Regions from separate parts of the Homo sapiens genome. Here regions 2 and 3 are each linked to region 1. The links are contacts of gene promoters, found by promoter capture Hi-C in blood cells and fetal thymus (Javierre and others, 2016). All regions are on one chromosome and are shown on one strand. Each heading gives the region's core, a stretch centred on a gene start or on the middle of the fragment in contact. The rest is flanking DNA. Distances are from core to core; before and after follow the strand shown. Region 1 holds the start of STEEP1 (STING1 ER exit protein 1). Region 2 overlaps NKAP (NFKB activating protein). Region 3 overlaps UPF3B (UPF3B regulator of nonsense mediated mRNA decay).

Region 1 (4,575 bases), core at 1,141-3,640:
AAAACAAAAACAAACAAACAAAAAAGGGCAAGGCACGGTGGCTCACACCTGTAATCTCAGCACTTTGAAAGCCTGCAGCAGAAGGATTGCTTGAGCCCAACAGTTCAAGACTACCCTGGGCAACACAGCAAGACCTTGTCTCTACAAAAAAATTAAAAAAAAAATAGCCGATGTGGTGGTGTGCATGTGTGGTCCCAGCTACTAGGGAGGCTAAGGTGGGAGGATCACTTGAGCCCAGGAGTTTGAGGCTGCAGTGAGCTGTGATCATGCCACTGCACTCCAGCCTGGGTGACAGAGCAAGACCCTGTCTCAAAAACAAAAACAAAAACAAAGCAAATGATTTCAAGTGGTTTTCCTTGGCTCCTGATGAATGTTTACCAATATTACTCAGTTGTTGTTTTTTACTCAAGGAGTCAATGTTGACTTTAAAGTGACTGAAGAATTGGACCGGGCGTGGTGGCTCACGCCTGTAATCTCAGCACTTTGGGAGGCCGATGTGGGCAGATCACTTGAGGTGAGGAGTTTGAGATCAGCCTGACCAACATGGTGAAACCCTGCCTCTACTAAAAATACAAAAAAAAAAAAAAAAAAAAAAATTAGCCAGGCATGGTGGCATGTGCCTGTAATCCCAGTTACTCAGGAGGCTGAGGCAGGAGAGTTGATTGAACCTGGGCGGTGGAGGTTGCAGTGAGCCAAGATTGTGCCACTGCACTCCAGCCAGCCTGGGTGACAGAGCCAGACTCTGTCTCAAAAAAAAAAAAAAAAAAAAAAATTGGCCTGGGTGTATGGTCTTGTGTGGAACAACTGCAGATGAGAGTATTTCAAAGAAGTCAGGAAAACACTAATTCAATTCAGTCTAAAGCATAATTTGCTAAGATGTATTACAAATATGTATGGAGCAGAAAAGGTTTAGACAAATGTACAATACTTGTCAAAATGTAAGTTGTTTAAAATCCTGTAGTTATTAATTGTATTATTAAACAGCAGGTACTTTGCAACAAACAAACAAACAAACTTGAATCTGTCTTGTGTTATTCTTGACAGTAGTGTCAACAGTGAAGTTCAGCTGGGCGCGGTGGCTCACACCTGTAATCCCAGCACTTTGGGAGACCAAGGTGGGTGGATCACGAGGTCAGGAGTTCAAGATTTTAGAAAATTTGAATTTGAATTTGAATTCAAAATTTTAGAAAATTTTCTAAATGAGAAGAACCCCACCCTTGACCACTATTATTGAACATGAATAGTTTTAAAAAATGGCTTTTGCCATAGACTTAGTAATGTTCCTTAATGAATTTAACCTAAAATTACAAGGCAAAACAGTGTTTATACCTGAAACCTGTACTGCAGTAAAGTCATTCAATGACATCCCACATTGTTTGAATCACAAACAGTGTCAAGGTGCTTTAATCACTTCTCGTGCTGTCAAAAGTTAAAAATCCAGATTTATATTCCCACACAAATTTGCGGTGGAAGTATTCTTGTACATGAATGTTCATAGCAGCATTATCTATATAATAACCAAAAAGTGAAAACATCCCCGTTGTCTGCCAATTGATGAATGAACAAAATGTGATATATCCATATGATGAAATATTATTCAACCATAAAAAGGAAAGAAGTACTGTAACATGGATGAACCTTGAAAACATTATGGTAAATGAAAGAAGCCAGACAAATGGCCACATATTGTAGGATTCCATTTATATGAAATGTCCAGAATAGGCAAATCCATAGAGATAAAAAGTAGATTAGTGGTTGCCGTGGGCTGGGAAGGTGGGGGATGTGCGGGTCGTGGTGACTACTAATGGGTATAAGATTTCTTTTTGAGATGATGGAAATGTTCTGGAATTAGTGGTGATGGTTACACAACTTTGTGAATACACTAAAAAACACCCAATTACACATTTTAAAAGGGTGAATTTTATGTTACGTGAATTATATCAACTAAAAAATAAGATACCTAAAAAATTATGTACTCATCTGGAATAGTCATTAAAATCACAATCATATTTAGAAACACACCCAAATCAGTATCATATATATATATATATATATATAATATAAACTATATAATGCATAGTCCTTTATTTAGCTGGTCTTATATATACATATGTGTATATATACATATAAATGCATGCGTTATAGAAATGTAAAGAATTTATATAATATTAAGGGTGTTGTGAGAAAGCCCACCAATCTTCATTGAGAAGTGACTCCCAGATCACAGGAGTCCCAGCTAACTTGGCCAAGACAAAGTAGGTTCTGGGAGGCTCCAGGCGCACCCCCGTATATCTTAGCCTGATAGGACAGCCCGGAAGTTTATAAGACTTCTGCTAACACGTGACCAGCGTAGCCACAAGGAAAAGGTGCAAGGCGCACTCGTGACGTCATTTCGGGGCGACCCTCTTCTTGGCGTAGAGTTTTCAGATTGCTCTTGGGAATCATGCCGAAAGTAGTGTCTCGGTCAGTAGTCTGCTCTGACACTCGGGACCGGGAGGAATATGACGACGGCGAGAAGCCCCTCCATGTTTACTACTGTTTGTGCGGCCAGATGGTCCTAGTGCTGGGTGAGTAGCCGGGAACTGCGGGGGCGTCTGCAAGGAGCCAGACTTCGGGTTCTTGAAGGCGAATTTCCTCTGGCTGTGATCTGGGAGCCACTTCTCAACGAAGATTGGTGGGTTTTCTCTCTCCGACTAAATCCTCCCTACGCATCCCCGCCCCACTCCAGGGCATTTTTTTTTTTCCTGCTTTTTGTTTAGCCTTGTGACTCTGTATCCAGACCTTCCTCAAAACTAAACTCCTTCAGGAGAACAAAAATAGAAACACAAACATATTGTATTTCCCTCTTAATCCACTGTCTTCAAAAACTACTGCCTCTAGAAGCTTTATAACTTTTCTGCTGGATACCAAGATGCTGCAGTTGCTCTTACCTCACAGCAAACGAAAATAAAACCCTCCCTCGATCCTGTATTCCCCTCCAGCTATAACCCCATTTCGTTGCTTCTTTTATAGCAAAGCTTCTCAAAAGAGTTGCCTATATTGGCTGTCTCTGCATCCTGACTTCTAATTCTCTCCTGACCTCACTTCAGGTAGGCTTTCCTTCCCACCTCATCATCTTAACCGTATTTGGCTCCATGTTAACAGTTCTAGTGGTCAGTTATCAATGTTCATTTTAATTCTGTCAGTGGCATTTGACAGAGGTAATCATTTCATTCCTTTTGCAACATGTTTTTTATTTGCTTCCAAGACTCCATACTCACTTGATTTTCCTCCTACCTCGTATTTCCCCCCCCCCTTTTTTTTCAGATGGAGTCTCACTCTGCTGCCCAGGCTGGAGTGCAGTGGTGCAATCTCGGCTCACTGCAAGCTCTGCCTCCCGGATTCAAGTGATTCTCCTGCCTCAGCCTCCCGAGTAGCTGGGATTACAGGCGCCCGCCACCATGCCCGGCTAATTTTTGTGTTTTTAGTAGAGACGGGGGTTTCACTACGTTGGCCAGGCTGGTCTCGAACTCCTGACCTCGTGATCCACCCGCCTCGGCCTCCCAAGGTGCTGGGATTACAGGCGTGAGCCACCGCGCCCAGCCTTAGATTTTTCCCCTTGTCTGGCTCCCTTTTCTCTCTCAGACTTTTAGGCATTCCAAGGCCCTATAGCTCAGTACTCTCACCTGTTCTCACTCTGTACCCACCCCCTAGGTGATCTCATTCATTCCCAAGCTTTAAATACAACTGACATGCTGGTAACTCCCAGATGTTCATCTTTAACCTGCACCTCTCCTGAGACTCCAATTGCCTATTCAACATCTCCACTTGAATGTCTAATGGGCCTCTCAAATATATCGTGCTGAAAATTGAGTTCATGACCCTCTACACCCCCTCTCCAATTGCTCCTCTTATAGTCATCCCTATTGCAGTCAGTAGTACAACTATTCATCCAGTATCTCAGACCAAAACCTGGAATCAGTCTTGACTTCTGTCTGTCACGTACCTTACATCTGTCCAGTCCATCAGGAAATCCTGCAGGTGCTTTCGTGAAAATGTATGCAGGATCTGACTGCTTCTTACCACCTCCATTCCTTTTTCTTTTTGAGACAGAGGGAGTCTCACTCTGTCACCCAGGCTGGAGTGCTGTGGCGCGGTCTCAGCTCACTGCAACTTCCGCCTCCCAGGTTCAAGCGATTCTCCTGCCTCAGCCTCCCAAGTAGTGTGCGCCACCAGGCCCGGCTAGTTTTTTTTTTTTTCTTTTTTTTTTTGAGATGGAGTTTCGCTCTTCTTGCCCAGGCTGGAGTGCAGTGGTGCGATCTCGGCTCACTGCAACTTCCACCTCCCAGGTTCAAGCGATTCTCCTGCCTCAACCTCCCTAGTAGCTGGGATTACAGGCATGTGCCACCACGCCCGGCTAATTTTGTATTTTTAGTAGAGATGGGGTTTCACCATGTTGGCCAGACTGGTCTTGAACTCCTGACCTCAAGTGATCCACCCACCTAGGCCTCCCAAAGTGCTGGGATTACAGGCATGAGCCACCACGGCCGGCCTACCACCTCCACTTCTAACACTGTAGTCCAAGCTACTACCATC
Region 2 (4,575 bases), core at 1,696-4,195, 370 kb before region 1:
TTTCTCTAAAAGATAGGCATTCTTTTTGTTTTGTTTTGTTTTTTTTGAGATGAAGTCTCGCTCTGTCGCCCAGGCTGGAGTGCAGTGGCGCGATCTCGGCTCACTGCAAGCTCCGCCTCCCGGGTTCACAAAGATAGGCATTCTTTAAAACAAAACAAAACAAAAAACTGGCCAGGCACAGTGGCACATATCTGTAATCTCAGCACTTTGGGAGGCCAGGCAGGAGGATCGCTTGAGCCCAGGAGTTCAATACCAGCCTGGGCAACATAGCGAGATCCTGTCTCTATATTTAAAAAAAAAACAAAAACCCATAACCAGAATGCTATTATTGTGCCTAAAACATTTAATAATAATTCCTCTATTCTCAGCAGTTTTTTCTGTAGTTTATTCCAATCAGGATCCAAATAATGTCCCTAAATTGCAGTGACCGTATTCTTATGGTATTCTTTGGCATGTTCTGTCCTCTGTATTTCCAATAGATTAATAGGTCTAGAGGCCTGAGAAGGCTCAGATTTGAGTTGGGGCAAGAATACTTCATAAGTGGTGCTGTTTACTGTCAGGAGGCAAATAATGTCTGGTTGTCACTTTTTGTCATATTAACAGCCATTGATGGTCATTATCTCGATCCATTATTTCATTAGGGGTTGTAAAATGGTGATAGTCTAATCCTGGCTTTATCCTTCATTTATTAGGCAGAATGATTCTATAAGAGAAACTTACCCTCATCAACTATTTAGATACCCTGAAATATAGTTTATATTGTAAGAGCAGGATAATTGCTTGATTTTTTTTGTTTTAATGACTTTTCAAATAATGAATTGGATTTTTAAAAAGTATTATTAACCCAAGGATTTAAACATATTTGACATATTTTAATCCATTACACATAAAATTATTCATAATGTTCAAATTGTTGGGACTTTTTAGGCTGTTTTATTTCTGTTGTCTTTCTACAACATCAGAACTGTATTTCATTGTTCCCTTTAGTGAATTTTTTTTTTTTTGAGACCGTGTCTCACCCTGTCACCCAGGCTGGAATGCAGTGGCACGATCACAGCTCACTACAACCTCAACCTTCCAGGATCAAGCCATCCTCCCACCTCTGCCCCCACTTTCCCCATACCTGGGACTACAGGCGTGTGCCACCACACCTGGCTAATTTTTGTATTTTTTGTAGAGACACGGTTTCGTCATGTTGCCCAGGGCTAGTTTCTAACCCCTGGGCTCAAGTGACCCACCCGCCTCAGTCTTCCAATGTGCTGGGATTACAGGGGTGAAACACTACACCCAGCCTCCTTTAGTGATAATTTTTATAGCAAAAGATGATTTGGTTAAATAAGTTAGAATACTTTTTAAAAAAATTCTTAAGAGGCAGTGTCTCGCTCTGTTGCCCAGACTGGAGTGCAGTGGGCTAATCATAGCTCATTGCAGCCTCGAACTCCTGGGCTCAAGTGATCCTCCCGCCTCAGCCTCCTGAATAGCTTAGACTACAGATGTGTGCCATCACACCCAGCTACTTTTTTTTTTTTTTAATAGAGACGGGGTCTTGCTCTGTTTCCCAGGTTCAGTTAGAAGCAGATTTTTTTAAGTAAAATTATCTTGTAAGTTTGAATAAGCTGGGAATTCAGATCATTTTATTGTCACCTTTCTTTGCCTTGAAAAATTAAGATGTATAGTCACCAGTTCAAAATTTAAAAAGAAAAGAAAAATTAAGATGCCCTCTAACATAGGAAGATTAAGTGAATTTGTATCAAATTAAAATCCCTATAGGAAGAAATATAAGAAAAAGAGGTCTAAGAAGAGCAGAAAAGAGTCCAGTGATTCAAGCTCTAAAGAATCCCAAGAAGAGTTTCTGGAAAATCCCTGGAAGGATCGAACAAGTAGGTTCTTCTGATAGACTAACTCAGAACAGATGAAACATTAAAGTAACCAATTAGTCAGAATGTGAATGTGTTTCTTAATATCTTTCATGCAGAGGCTGAAGAACCATCAGATTTAATTGGCCCAGAGGCTCCAAAAACACTTACCTCTCAAGATGATAAACCTTTGAAGTAAGCAGCAGTGTGTTTATAATATCTAAAGTACCTACCAAAAAGTCTGGTTCTAACTTACCTTGCCAAGCTTATCTGACTCTATTCCCTTATTTCTACTCCAGGTTCCAGCTGAGCTGGACTACTAAATATTCCCTGGGCTTAATGTGCACTTTGCAACTTTTATGCCATGTTCAGCTTATTTCTTCATCCAGTATGCCTTCCCTTCTTTTCCCTGCCCTCTGTTTTCTTCCCTATCGCCAGTTTCTTCCTGTTAAAATCCTTACTATCCTTCGAAGCCCTTTTCAAAAGGAGATGCATATGCTGATTCCCAATACTTCCCCTCCACAAGTAGGTGTGATTTCTGTTTCTCTTTGATCCTCACAGAATTTTTTATTCCTTTTTTTCTCTTTTTTCTTTTTTTACCAGCAGAATTTTTTTTTCTTTTTGTGAGACGGAGTCTCGCTCTGTTGCCCAGGCTGGAGTTTAGTGGCGTGATCTTGGCTCACTGCAACCTCTGCCTCCCAGGTTCAAGCGATTCTCCTGCCTCAGCCTCCTGAGTAACTGGGATTACAGGCACGCGCCACCACACTCAGCTAATTTTTTTTTGTATTTTCAGTAGAGATACGGTTTTACCATGTTGGTCAGGCTGGTCTCAAATTCCTGACCTCATGATCCACCTGCCTCAGCCTCCCAAAGTGCTGGGATTACAGGCGTGAGCCACCGCACCTGGTCTAGAATTTTTTTTTTGTTTGTTTTGTTTTGTTTTTTTGAGATGGAGTCTCACTCTGTCTCCCAGGCTGAAGCACAGTGGTGTGATTGAGTTTCACTCTGTTGCCCAGGCTGGAGTGCAGTGGCATGATCTTGGCTCACTGCAACCTCCACCTCCCAGATTCAAGTGATTCTCCTGCCTCAGCCTCCCAAGTAGCCAGGATTACAGGCGCCTGCCGCCACGCCCGGACTAATTTTTGTATTTTTAGTAGAGCTGGGGTTTCGCCATGTTGGCCAGTATGGTCTCGAACTCCTGATCTCAAGTGATCTGCCCGCCTCAACCTCCAAAAATGCTGAGATTACAGGCGTCAGCCACTGCACCCAGCCTACTTTGTTTTTTTTTTTTGTTTTGTTTTGTTTTGTTTTTTGAGACAAAGCCTTACTCTGTCGCCCAGGCTGGAGTGCAGTGACACGATCTCGGCTCACTGCAACCTCTGCCTCCCAGGTTCAAGTGATTCTCCTGCCTCAGCCTCCTGAGTAGCTGGGACTACAAGCATGCACCACCATGCCCGGCTAATTTTGTATTTTTAGTAGAGACGGGGTTTCGCTATGTTGGCCAGGCTGCTCTCAAGCTCCTGATCTCAGGTGATCCTCCCGCCTCAGCCTCCCAAAGTGTTCAGATTGTAGGCGTGAGCCACTGTGCCTGGCATACTTTGGATTTTTTAAGGGAAAAAGGGAAAGGGAATCAGCTGGAGCCAGAACCAGTAATGACAATACCTGTAGGGATAAATTAATCCATAATTGTAAACTGTGAATCTATACTCACAGCAGTTCTTTTCTTTCAAAATATTTCTGCATTTCTGGGTTAGTTGTATAGGTCATAGTGCAATGCAATGTTTAATACACTAATTAGGATAAAGCAATTCACATTGAGCTTCCTAGCACACTACTGCTGAGCACTGTTATTCCTACTCTTGTTTGAGAGAAAATGTGGGGATTTTTGGTGCTCTCTTTAGATTATAAGCTTTTAATATTAAGATGATTTAATGGACCTTTTCTGAATTCTGAATTACTTTGTAGCTATGGCCATGCTCTGTTACCTGGTGAAGGTGCAGCTATGGCTGAATATGTAAAAGCTGGAAAACGTATCCCACGAAGAGGTGAAATTGGCTTGACAAGTGAAGAAATTGCATCATTTGAATGCTCAGGTTATGTAATGAGTGGTAGCAGGTATGTTGTTGGCATTAAGCTCAGTTTCCATGATTAGATCTTTTTCTTCTTTTTTACTACCAGAATTATATTTTGGTAATTGATTTTCATTAAGTGACTGTTTCTTATGAAAAGTAGAGTATAAATATTGGTTTGATATTAGTGTTGTTAGTATAACATGGTTTTCTGCAATTCCAAGTATATATGCAACTCAGCCTCAAACTCAGCTATATCTCTGACTTCAAAGAATCAATCTTCCTAATGTCCTTTCCTAGTTGGTATTTGCTTACAGATATTTTATCCACTGGAGGATATAGTTAAATTCAGCTATTTATCACTGCCCCATGAGGAATGTGGCAGTTAGGAAAATATTTTCACAAGACAGTGTTTCCTGGTTACAAGTTTGTCTTCAGTTTTTTATGGACCCAGATTTCTGAGACTGAATAACAGAAAAAGATGATAAAAGACATTGGTCAGCTGAGAATATATCCTGGCTAATAAATAAATGAATAAATAAATAAATTTTAAAAAGACACTGGATTCAGCATGGGAAATGAATATAAAATTAGGAAAGAGAAAAGTTCCAGGAAGAACCAGGAGAATGAGCAAATAGGGCAGCAGTACT
Region 3 (4,575 bases), core at 968-3,467, 270 kb before region 1:
ATGGAGTTTCTCATCTTAATTCTTTCCAGCAATCTCTCTGTCTGCTATGCCACAAGTGACTTGACTTGCTATTCCTAACAATCAGCAAGGCAGAAGGTAGAGCCAGCCATGCTAGAGACATTCATTAATGTTCTTATTAGAGTAATGAACACCTTGGTTTCTAATAAGGATGTTCATTGGAGAAATAAGAGCACTTCCAATGAAACCTGCACATGGTATCCTCATTTTACACTGGTGCCTTCTCAGTGTCCATTTTGGACTCACCATTTGCAGTGGCTGTCTGTGTGCCAAAATGCTTTGTGCTTATGTCTTGTGGTGCTTTGCCTTTTGCTTAGTAATTTACATGATGCCTTCACCCTGAGATGAACCTTGTGTGATACCTTCACTCTGAGACTTGAAATTCTTCTATTTTGCCTAAGAATCTCTCTGATTATCCGACACTTGGAGGTATTCTCGAGAGATTCATAGCAGCAATGTAAAAAACAATGGCATTTTTGAACATGCGTAAATATGGCATTAAATACAGAGTTCCTACTCAGTAGAGATGGAACTTCACTATTTGGTTGTATAAGGCCTTTAGATTTTTAAATCAAATGCCAAATAATTCTTGTTATTAATCTCTAATGGCAAGATAATTGTACCATCATAAGTATGTTATTCTCAGGCTCAAGGCAAAATTATTCCTGCAATGGATCTCTCCTTTGGTGACCAAGGTATTTGTCATTCCAAGTACTACATAAAAACAGTCCCAACAGAAACGATCTGCCTATCACTTAAAATTTGTGGGCTGTTTCCCATTAAGTTATATCAACATGCTGGTTTGCTACAGAAGCATACTTTGAAGTATGCATTGGTTCACTTAAAGGTTGACCCATTTAAAGCCAAAGGAAGCCGGGCACAGTGGCTCACACCTGTAATCTCAGCACTGTGGGAGGCCGAGGCAGAAGGATGGTGTGAGCCCAGAAGTTTGAGAACAGCCTGGGTGACATGATGAGACCTTGTCTCTACAAAAAAATTAAAAAATTAGCCATATGTGGTGGTGTGCATCTGTTGTCCTAGCTACTCAAGAGGCTGAGGCAGGAGGACCACTTAAGCCCAGGAGGTCAAGGTTGCGGTGAGCCATGTTCATGCCACTGCACTCCAGCATGGGCAACAGAGTAGTGAGACCCTGCCTCAGAATAAAAGCCAAAGGAGTCTTGATCCTATTGCCACAAAGTGATTAAACCACTTCGTTCAAGTGGATAACACTTTAACATTAATAGCATCCTTTTAGTAAATTACTACTCTTATGCACTAGTTGTTCACCTGAAAGATTAAGTGTACCTGCAGAGATAGGGGGCTTTGTCTAGTCTAAATTTTAAATATTTGGTATACTGGGTTTTTAATAGAAGATAGTGTCCCAGCCTTCAAAATAAAAATAAACATTTTATCTTTAAAGCTGCTCAAGAAGCCAGAAAAAGGAGATGAAAAAGAATTGGACAAAAGAGAAAAAGCCAAGAAATTGGACAAAGAGAATCTCAGTGATGAAAGAGCCAGTGGGCAAAGTTGTACATTGCCCAAGCGTTCTGATAGCGAACTTAAAGATGAAAAACCAAAGAGGTCAGTAGTCAAGGACTCTTTGTTATGTTTGATTTATACATGCTAGTTTTGCTGCTATGTCCTGGACATGTACCTGAATTAAGATAAGCTGTTTTATGCAGGGCAGGGGGATGAGGAGGAACAGTTTCAGAATATTCTTGTATCTTAATCTGGGTGAATGGTTTTGGGGTTTTGTTCCTTCTTAAAACACTAGTATTTTTCACTCTGCTCTAAAAGTGCAACCTCATTGCAGGGGCCAAATCAGAATCACAGTGTTCCTGCATTTGTGATTACAAGATCTTTCAGGGTTCTGTCTCAGATTTGTTTTTCATGCAGACCTGAAGATGAGAGCGGCAGAGACTATAGGGAGAGGGAACGGGAATATGAACGAGATCAGGAGCGCATACTTCGAGAAAGAGAGAGGCTGAAGCGGCAAGAAGAAGAGCGCCGTAGGCAGAAGGAGCGCTATGAGAAAGAGAAGACTTTTAAGAGAAAAGAAGAAGAAATGAAAAAAGAGAAAGACACACTTCGGGATAAAGGAAAGAAGGCTGAAAGTACAGAATCAATAGGCAGCTCAGAAAAAACTGAAAAGAAAGAAGAAGTGGTCAAGAGAGATCGAATAAGAAACAAGGTGCTGCTTGTCATTAAACTTGTTTATGAGGGTTTTTTTCCCTTTTCCTGCAAGTGTAAAGAAAGTGTAAAGGGCACTGTTATTATAGAATTTTTAAAGGGGAACTTTAATCATCTGCAACTTTTTTTTTTTTTTTTTTTTGAGACAGAGTCTGACTATGTTGCCCAGGCTGGAGTGCAGTGGCACAATCTCGGCTCACTGCAAGCTCCGCCTCCTGGGTTCACGCCATTCTTCTGCTTCAGCCTCCCAAGTAGCTGGGACTACAGGCGCCCACCACCACGCCTGACTTATTTTTTTGTATTTTTAGTAGAGACAGGGTTTCACCGTGTTAGCCAGGATGGTCTTGATCTCCTGACCTCGTGATCCACCTGCCTCAGCCTCCCAAAGTGCTGGGATTACAGGCGTGAGCCACCACGCCTGACCAACTTTTATTTCAGTCTTGGCTGGGCTTTTATTAACTTACTATAGAAATTGTAAACATACACAAAAGTAGAATAGAGAATAGTATGATGGGCCAGGTGCAGTGGCTCACACCTGTAATCCTAGCACTTTGGGAGGCTGAGGTGGGTGGATTGCTAGAGCCTAGGAGTTCTAGACCAGCCTGGCCAACATGGTGAAACCCCGTCTCTACTAAAAATACAAAAAATCGGCTGGATGTGGTGGCGCACACCTGTAATCTCAGCTACTCGGGAGGCTGAGGCAGAAGAATCACTTGAACCTGGGAGGTGGAGGTTGAGGTGAGCCGAGATCACGCCATTGTATTCTAGCCTGGGCAACAGAGCGAGACTCAGTCTCAAAAAAAAAACTGGCCGGGCGCGGTGGCTCACGCCTGTAATCCCAGCACTTTGGGAGGCCAAGACGGGTGGATCACGAGGTCAGGAGATCAAGACCATCCTGGCTAACATGGTGAAACCCCATCTCTACTAAAAATACAAAAAATTAGCCAGGCGTGGTGGCGGGCGCCTGTAGTCCCAGCTACTCGGGAGGCTGAGGCAGGAAAATGGCGTGAACCTGGGAGGCGGAGCTTGCAGTGAGCCGAGATCGCGTCACTGCACTCCAGCACGGGCAACAGAGCGAGACTCTGTCTCAAAAAAAAAAAAAAAATCGAATAGTATGATGAACTCCATGTACTGTACCCATCACCCAGCAGTTCATAGCCAACCTTCTTTCTATTCTACTTCATCCCTACCCCTACTAGATTATTTTCAAACAAACCCTGCACATAATTTCTTCCTTAAATACTTCAGTATATGAGATAAATACTCTATTAATATTACCCTAGTAGCATTTTCACACCAAAAAAAACTAACAATAATTCCTTAACGTCCTGTCTATTCAGTGTTCATATGTTCCCAATTGCTTCATTAATGTCTTTTTAAAATTAATTAATTATTTATTTTTTGCGATGGAGTCTCGCTCTGTCATCTAGGCTGGAGTGCAGTGGCATGATCTCAGCTCACCACAACCTCCACCTCCCGGGTTCAAGTGATTCTCCTGCCTCAGCCTCCCGAATAGCTGAGACTACAGCCTCAAGCCACCATGCCCGGCTAATTTTTGTATTTTTAGTAGAGACAGGGTTTCACCATGTTGGCCAGGCTGGTCTCGAACTCCTGACCTCAGGTGATCCTCCCGCCTCAGCCTCCCAAAGTGCTGGGATTACAGGCATGAGCCACCGTGCCCAGCCTAATGTCTTTTTTTTAATAGGACCTAAACAAATTCCACAAATTATGCTTCCTTGAAATGTCTTCTTCAGTTCTCTTTTGTTTTTAGTTTATTTTTTGAGACAGAGTCTTGCTATGTCACCCAGGCTGGAGTGCCGTGGTACAATCTCAGCTCACTGTAGCCTCGACCTCCTGGGCTTAAGCCATCCCCCTACCTCAGCCTCCAGAGTAGCTGGGACTACAGGCATGCATCACCATGCCCAGCTAATTTTTAAGTTTTTTTGTAGAGATGAGGTCTCCCTATGTTGCTCAGGCTGGTCTCAAACTTTTGAGCTCAGCCGATCCCCTCAAAGTATTGGGAATAAAGGTATGAGCCACTGCACCCAGCCAAGTTTTCTTTTAATCTAAACAATTTCCCCTTCTCTTGTTTTCCTACCATTTGTTGCAGAAACCAATTTGTCTTGTAGGGCTTTTCCTGTTCTGAATTGGCAGATTACATCCCCATGCTGTTATTTAACGTGTTCCTCTGTCTTCTGTGCTTCCTTTAAAACTGGCACTTAGGGCCTGGCATGATGGCTCATGCCTGTAATCCCAACAATTTGGGAGGCCAAGTCAGGAGGATCACTTAAGCCCAAGAGTTGGAAAGCAGCCTGGGCAACATAGGGAGAGCTTGTTTGTACTAACAATGTAAAAACAGCCCAGTGT

What was found. Contacts are between HindIII fragments. The CHiCAGO score rates a contact against its expected background, and 5 or more counts as called.
Region 2: a contact is called between a fragment that was not itself captured here and the fragment with the promoter of STEEP1 in region 1, in 1 of 17 cell types (naive CD8 T cells). The highest score is 5.2, in naive CD8 T cells.
Region 3: a contact is called between a fragment that was not itself captured here and the fragment with the promoter of STEEP1 in region 1, in 2 of 17 cell types (total CD4 T cells and naive CD8 T cells). The highest score is 6.7, in total CD4 T cells.

What each region holds. Positions count from the first base shown.
Region 1 is chrX:119,563,224-119,567,798 of GRCh38, reverse strand. STEEP1 (STING1 ER exit protein 1) reads left to right here and starts at 2,390. Exons shown (of 7, transcript NM_022101.4): 1 at 2,390-2,567. The coding sequence starts at 2,444. The HindIII fragment of the contact is 7,229 bases long and covers 1-2,885 here.
Region 2 is chrX:119,929,412-119,933,986 of GRCh38, reverse strand. NKAP (NFKB activating protein) reads left to right here. Exons shown (of 9, transcript NM_024528.4): 6 at 1,771-1,880; 7 at 1,976-2,051; 8 at 3,822-3,971. Among named protein-coding and RNA genes, the nearest start is that of NKAP, 12 kb to the left of the region's middle. The HindIII fragment of the contact is 1,644 bases long and covers 2,124-3,767 here.
Region 3 is chrX:119,835,391-119,839,965 of GRCh38, reverse strand. UPF3B (UPF3B regulator of nonsense mediated mRNA decay) reads left to right here. Exons shown (of 11, transcript NM_080632.3): 9 at 1,439-1,599; 10 at 1,915-2,209. Among named protein-coding and RNA genes, the nearest start is that of UPF3B, 15 kb to the left of the region's middle. The HindIII fragment of the contact is 5,356 bases long and covers 1-4,575 here.